Linked DNA regions of Homo sapiens: region 2 is linked to region 1. Evidence: promoter capture Hi-C in human tissues and cell types (Jung and others, 2019). All regions are on one chromosome and are shown on one strand. Each heading gives the region's core, a stretch centred on a gene start or on the middle of the fragment in contact. The rest is flanking DNA. Distances are from core to core; before and after follow the strand shown.

Region 1 (3,187 bases), core at 493-2,992:
AAAGGAAAGAATTCAGTGAAATGGAAGAGAATTTCTAATTTGACTACTTTTAGACAAGTATTGAATACTTACTTCTGATAACTTTATGTATATTACCACAAGATCTCCGTAGTTAGGTGTGATATGCTCTTGTTTCCCTGTCTCCTCTCTTCTAAGATAATATAAATATTATTTGTTGTAGGACTTCTTTATGATAAGGTGCTTTGGACCTAAGTTTTCCAATGAAACTCATGAAAACCAATGTGGTTGGGATTTCTGCTAAATGATAACGTTTTGTTGTTTTTACATAAGATTGTCACTCTAGAAGTCTCATTATGCAGTGATTTCTAGGGAATTTCTTAAAGGCACTGTATCTTTTAAAATCCTTTGATGGCTTCACTAGTGCTTTGCATTTTACAGTTTGGACCACTGACCTGAGTCAAAGCTTTTGAGGTTTTAAGGTACCAGACATCTTTCATCTTTTTATCCTCTTGTTGAATCAGAAAAATGTCTTCATTTAGTCTGTTATAAAAATGTCTAGTATCTTTAGGATAAATTAGCCCTATCCTACAAGAGTGTTATACCTCGATTTAGTAGAGATTATTTTTCTTTAGTATGAATGAAATGACATCACAGCTTTTTTTTCTTAGTAACAATAGAAATCAGTCATTGAGCTTTTGTTCCTTTATATGAATAAAAATATTTAAAATGCTTATTAATTTTTCTTTGTTTTATCAAGTACTCTGGGAAACTAAGTTCATTTGAATATTGTTGGTAAACATTATCTGTGAATGGCTCTTATGCACCATTCAGGGCTCTCTTCATGCATTTTTTTCAAGCTATTAAATAAAACAAAATTGGGATAAAAATAAAGACAAAGATGAGACAAATTCAATGAAAAATGAATGGGAGTTTTGGATGCTTTATTATCTAGTTCTGAGTGACTTGTTTATGCAGCATAAGTAAAAACAAGCGTTTACCTCAGCTTAAATCTGCAAAAGCTTAAGGAAGGGTTGCAAGAAATTCAAATCCACTATCTCATTCACAGCACGAGCAGATTTAATTTCAGTAGACAAGATATAAATTAAGGTTATAAAATTAAATCTTACCTGGCAGTGGTTTGTTTGAAGCTCAGTAATTTGAACTCTGGCTGGAAATAGTAAGCTTCGAGACCCAAAATGCCTTCTCTACTTTCCTTTCATGTTTTATTTTGCCAGTGTTTTATTTCTTGCAGTGTCTTTATATCTGTATTCCTGATAATCCTGTAGCATTAGTTAGGATAGTATGCGGTAGATGAAGACTCCATTTGGATAGGATTATAGAACCAGAAGGGTGAGTTTTGCCTTTATCTGGTAACAGCAGTTGATCTGATCACAAACAATCTGAGTGTTGAGAACTTATTAAAGATTCATTGAATGCTTCAGCAATGAGAAATCCTGGTTGTTCCTATATGCATTTGACCCCCTGGAAAAGTTCTGCTTGTTCGTATTTCAGAATTACACACGCTTCCAAATCAAGCTGCTTTAAAAAACATTATCTGGACTAGAAGCATGGATGTTCTTGCACTCTTGCTTTCCTTTCTCCATACGAACTTTTCAGTCCATCAGCTTCCTTTCTGTAGAAGATGAAGGCATTTCTTCTGTCCTCCTCATGCTTTTGTAACCCATGCTTCTGGTACCCTGTTTTTTGAATAGTGAGGTAAAAATCCAGAAGGAAGTACGGCTTTATCATGTCTCTGGACGGTGAGCGTACTTGGCATGAATGAAGAGCTGATAGGAGCTATTCAAACCAGACAGCAAACTGATGGGATGACGCTGCCATACATAAAAAACTCATTAATTACTTCCCCTGCTGGACAGCAGTATATCCTGAAAGGAAGAAAGAAAGGAGCAGATGATGATATTCGTTTTGATAGGTGTTCTCTGTTTGAACAGCTTGTCATTGAGAAGAGAATCCAGGAAAAGCTGCAGCTTCAGAGTGTGATCAGGTAGAATGGGCAAGAGTTATTTGACAGACAGTTAAGTGACGTATTTTGGGAGGAAAAAGAGGGCTTAGCATGGAGGTAGCTGGAATAAGGTTCCAAAATGCTTTTGAAAATGTTCATTTTTTCCTGTTAGTCTTTTTGGCTAGAAGCTTTTTTTTTTTTTTTTTTTTTTTTTTAAGCTTTGCTAGGCATTATTCACAGACATGTTGCTGAGTTATTTTCTCATATGGTTTTCCCTAAAGATGGAAAATAATTTTTAAAAGTCTTTGAGATAGAAAGAGTATACTGTGAGTTTTAAATATTTGTAGCAGAGAAAAGGCTGCCTTTTTTTTTTTTCCTAAATGTATGCCTGTTTTTATACATCTTTTGGGCATATGCGTTTTGTTGCTTTGGAGTAAAGCATTATAAGTCCTCATTTGATACAAACTTTTAACAGGGTCTTCATTAAAGCTTTTCCTTAAGTTAGATGAAATCCATATTAGCTGTATAAAAGAATAGATTTTTAAATGTCAATTTCATAATTTTTGCACTTCAGTTTTTAAATTTAAAATTCAAATTTTTAAAACTGCACTTCAGTTTAAAATTTAAATTTTAAATTTAAACGTTTTTTCCCTGCCTGAGTTCTTTATGAGTGTATCTAGACAATATAATGTTTTTAAATTTTAAAAAATTATTATGGAACATTTCAAACTTACACAAAACTCTGAAAAATAATACAAAAATAATACATGAACCTCCAGAAACTCATTACCAAGATTCAACAATTGTCAGATTCAATTCTTTGCTAAAATATTTTAAAGCAAATCTCATTTCACCTATTTGTACTTTAGTATGTATATTTTTAAAGTATGGACACTTTTTCACATGACCCTGTGCCATTATCACACCTAACACATTGGCTATAATCCTCTGGAGTCATATAATATCCAGTTCATTTTAAATTCCTTGTGTCTCAGAAACTATGTCTTTATGTAGGTTTTTTCTGAGTGAGAATCCAGACAAAGTATACACTTTAATTGTTAGCCAATAGAATTTTAAACACTGACAGATGAACATGTATGAGAAAGAAGTGAATTTTAGTTTTATAGTGGTCTTTGACACACATTTGTAATAGGAATATTTATGCAAGAGAACATATCTTTAGAATATTTTCTTGAACTTTTCCCACTTAACATTGCATGATACTGAAAAGGATTGTAATTTCATATGGTAATGATTGGTCAT
Region 2 (3,218 bases), core at 688-3,187, 78 kb after region 1:
GGTGCTGGTAAAACTGGCTAGCCATATGTAGAAAGCTGAAACTGGATCCCTTCCTTACACTTTATACAGAAATTAATTCACGATGGATTAAAGACTTAACTGTTAGACCTAAAACCATAAAAACCCTAGAAGAAAACCTAGGCAATACCATTCAGGACATAGGCATGGGCAAGGACTTCATGGCTAAAATGCCAAAAGCAATGGCAACAAAAGCCAAAATAGATGAATGGGATCTAATTAAACCAAAGAGCTTCTGCACAGCAAAAGAAACTACCATCAGAGTGAACAGGCAACCTACAGAATCGGAGAAAATTTTTGCAATCTACCCATCTGACAAAGGGCTAATATCCAGAATCTACAAATAACTCAAACAAATTTACAAGAAAAAAACAACCCCATCAAAAAGTGGGCAAAGGATATGAACAGACACTTCTCGAAAGAAGACATTTATGCAGCCAACAGACACACGAAAAAATGCTCATCATCACTGGTCATCAGAGAAATGCAAATCAAAACCACAATGAGATACCATCTCATGACAGTTAGAATGGCGATCATTAAGAAGTCAGGAAACAACAGATGCTGGAGAAGATGTGGAGAAATAGGAATGCTTTTACTTTGTTGGTGGGAGTGTAAATTGGTTCCACCATTGTGGAAGACAGTGTGGTGATTCCTCAAGGATCTAGAACTAGAAATACCATTTGACCCAGCCATCCCACTACTGGGTATATACCCAAAGGATTATAAATCATTCTACTATAAAGACACATGCACACCTATTTTTATTGTGGCACTGTTCACAATAGCAAAGACTTGGAACCAACCCAAATGTCCATCATTGATAGACTGGATTGAGAAAATGTGGCACATATACACCATGGAATACTATGCAGCCATAAAAAGGATGAGTTCATGTTCTTTGCAGGGACATGAATGAAGCTGGAAACCATCATTCTCAGCAGACTATCACAGAAAACCAAACACCACATGTTCTTATTCACAGGTGGGAACTGAACAATGAGAACACTTGGACACAGACAGGGAGGGGAACATCATACACCAGGGCCCGTCAGGGGGTGGGGGACTGGGGGAGGGATAGCATTAGGAGAAATACCTAATGTAAATGACGAGTTAATGGGTGCAACAAACCAACATGGCACATGTATACCTATATATCAAACCTGCACGTTGTGCACATGTGCCCTAGAACTTAAAGTATAATAAAAACAAACCATTAAAAAATAGTTAATACAATATAAAACAAAATTTCTGTGGGGATAAATTTCTAAAGCTTGCTTATTACCAACAAGGGGAATGTTTAAAAGCCAGACATTTTAGTATATCTTTTAGGATTTTTTTTTTTTCCAGACAGAGTCTCACTCTGTTGCTGGAGTGCAGTGGTGTGATCTCGGCTCACTGCAACCTTCGCCCCCTGGCCTCAAGCAATCCTCTCATCTCAGCCTCTCAAGTAGCTGGGACTACACATGTGCACCACCACGCTCCGCTAATTCTTTAAATTTTTGGTAGTGATGAGTTCTCACTATGTTGCCCAGGCTGGCCTCAAATTTCAGGGCTCTCATGATCCTCTTCAGCCTCCCAAAGTGCTGGGATTACAGCTGTGAGCCACCATGCTTGGCCAGTTTTACCTTTGTAATGGTCATGTTCATAGCTCATCAGCTAGTAAGTTTGCACTGTTCACTTGTCTTGGATAGTGGTAATTGCTGGAATATTACATTTTGAGATCCATCCTTAGTTTCTTTTCATCTTTCTCCCTTTTTGAGAGTGGTTTAAGAAAATTCTAATTGAAGATCTCTGCCATTTTTTTCTCCTTCCCACTTGTTCTTATTTGAGTTATTTGATTTACTAGAAATTTCTGGTTGCAAACAGAATTCTGTATTTTACATTTTTGCCCTATACTTTTGGCAAGCTTCATGAAAGTAACATGATTTCCCCCCTTATTTCTCTGTTTCCTTATCCCCTTTATGGCACATAGACTACTGATGTTCATTTGTTGATTTTGTTTAGCCTTGTATTCTTGTTCGTTTGCTCATTTATTCTTGCATGCATATATTTACGCATTATTATTTCCCTCCTTCCTAAATGCACATTTACTAACTGCCTACTGTGTGCCAGGCACCGCACCAGTCACAAGAGTAGTAATAAAAACTGGGCTCTGACAGTTAACAGTGCTTTACTGAAGATGTGTACATTGCAGAAATCATGTTGGCTTTGTGTGGAGCTAGGCAGCATCGAGCCCCAACTAAGATAAGATCACTATATACCTCAGACTACTGAACATATAATGTGTATTATCCCTTGAGGAAGTAAAAAAACCAGAAAACCAAAAAATGTTTTGCATCAATGAACAAAAACCTAGACACTATCAGTGATGCACAAACATCTCCAGAGAAGATCAGTTTGGCACGTCGGAGAGGGAACTCGCCTTGACACCTTGTGGCCACTTGGTTTTCTGTGAAGTTTGGAATCGGTAGAATGTAGGGTTTGTATCTACCTTGCCGTACCTTGACCCCATTGGTGGAGAGCACATTTGTTTGCACATCATTTTCAGGACCAAGCTTCGAGTCTCCCCTCTAATGGTATGCCCGATTTTCTATAAATGTATGCTGTGACAAGAAGCCACAGCTGCTCCGTTAGTCTCAAAGGACATGACCTGAAAAAGAATAAAAATCAGATTGCACATATTTGCTCTAATTTTTGACAGGAAGGCTAAACAAAACATTTAAAAATTCAAATTACTCTGTATGTCATTTGCCCATTTAAATCACAGCTCTGTAGAATACTGTTTTTCAAAACTAAAAATAAAAGAAAACCTAATGAGATGAGAAGGCAAGTTGGATGCGTATTTTTTTTTGTGCAGAAACATATTTCATGTCCATTGGGTTGAATAGGAGGGGGAAGAGGCAGAGAAACAGATAACTTAAGATTTACATTGTAGTGTCAGACAGGTGTATTCAAGGGACATTATGGACGTCCTAATTAGTCTAATATTATTTTAGAGTTTTCAGCTAAGCTCATAGTGTGCACAAAAACAAACAGAACAGACTCACAAGCCAACAGTGGGGAGAGCAATAAAAGCAAGAAATCTGCTGGATACTTACAGAAATGATCTTGGCATTGGTGGGAAAAGGTTTTGTTATACTGACAGAGATTAAAAGACTAGCATTATTTGAATAATGTGGTTTTAGAGTTTTTGAATT

Evidence for each region. The method cuts DNA at HindIII sites, captures the fragments that hold promoters and counts their contacts. A contact is called where the count stands out against the background at its distance.
Region 2: a contact is called between a fragment that was not itself captured here and the fragment with the promoter of CHRM5 in region 1, in 2 of the 25 tissues and cell types used here (H1 embryonic stem cells and mesenchymal stem cells).

The regions. Positions count from the first base shown.
Region 1 is chr15:33,967,052-33,970,238 of GRCh38, reverse strand. It overlaps CHRM5 (cholinergic receptor muscarinic 5), which reads right to left and starts at 1,742. Exons shown (of 3, transcript NM_012125.4): 1 at 1,089-1,742. The region is part of intron 2 of AVEN (apoptosis and caspase activation inhibitor); the gene reads left to right. The HindIII fragment of the contact is 2,452 bases long and covers 703-3,154 here.
Region 2 is chr15:33,889,250-33,892,467 of GRCh38, reverse strand. All of the region lies in intron 2 of AVEN (apoptosis and caspase activation inhibitor), which reads left to right. Among named protein-coding and RNA genes, the nearest start is that of CHRM5, 78 kb to the left of the region's middle. The HindIII fragment of the contact is 5,335 bases long and covers 1-3,218 here.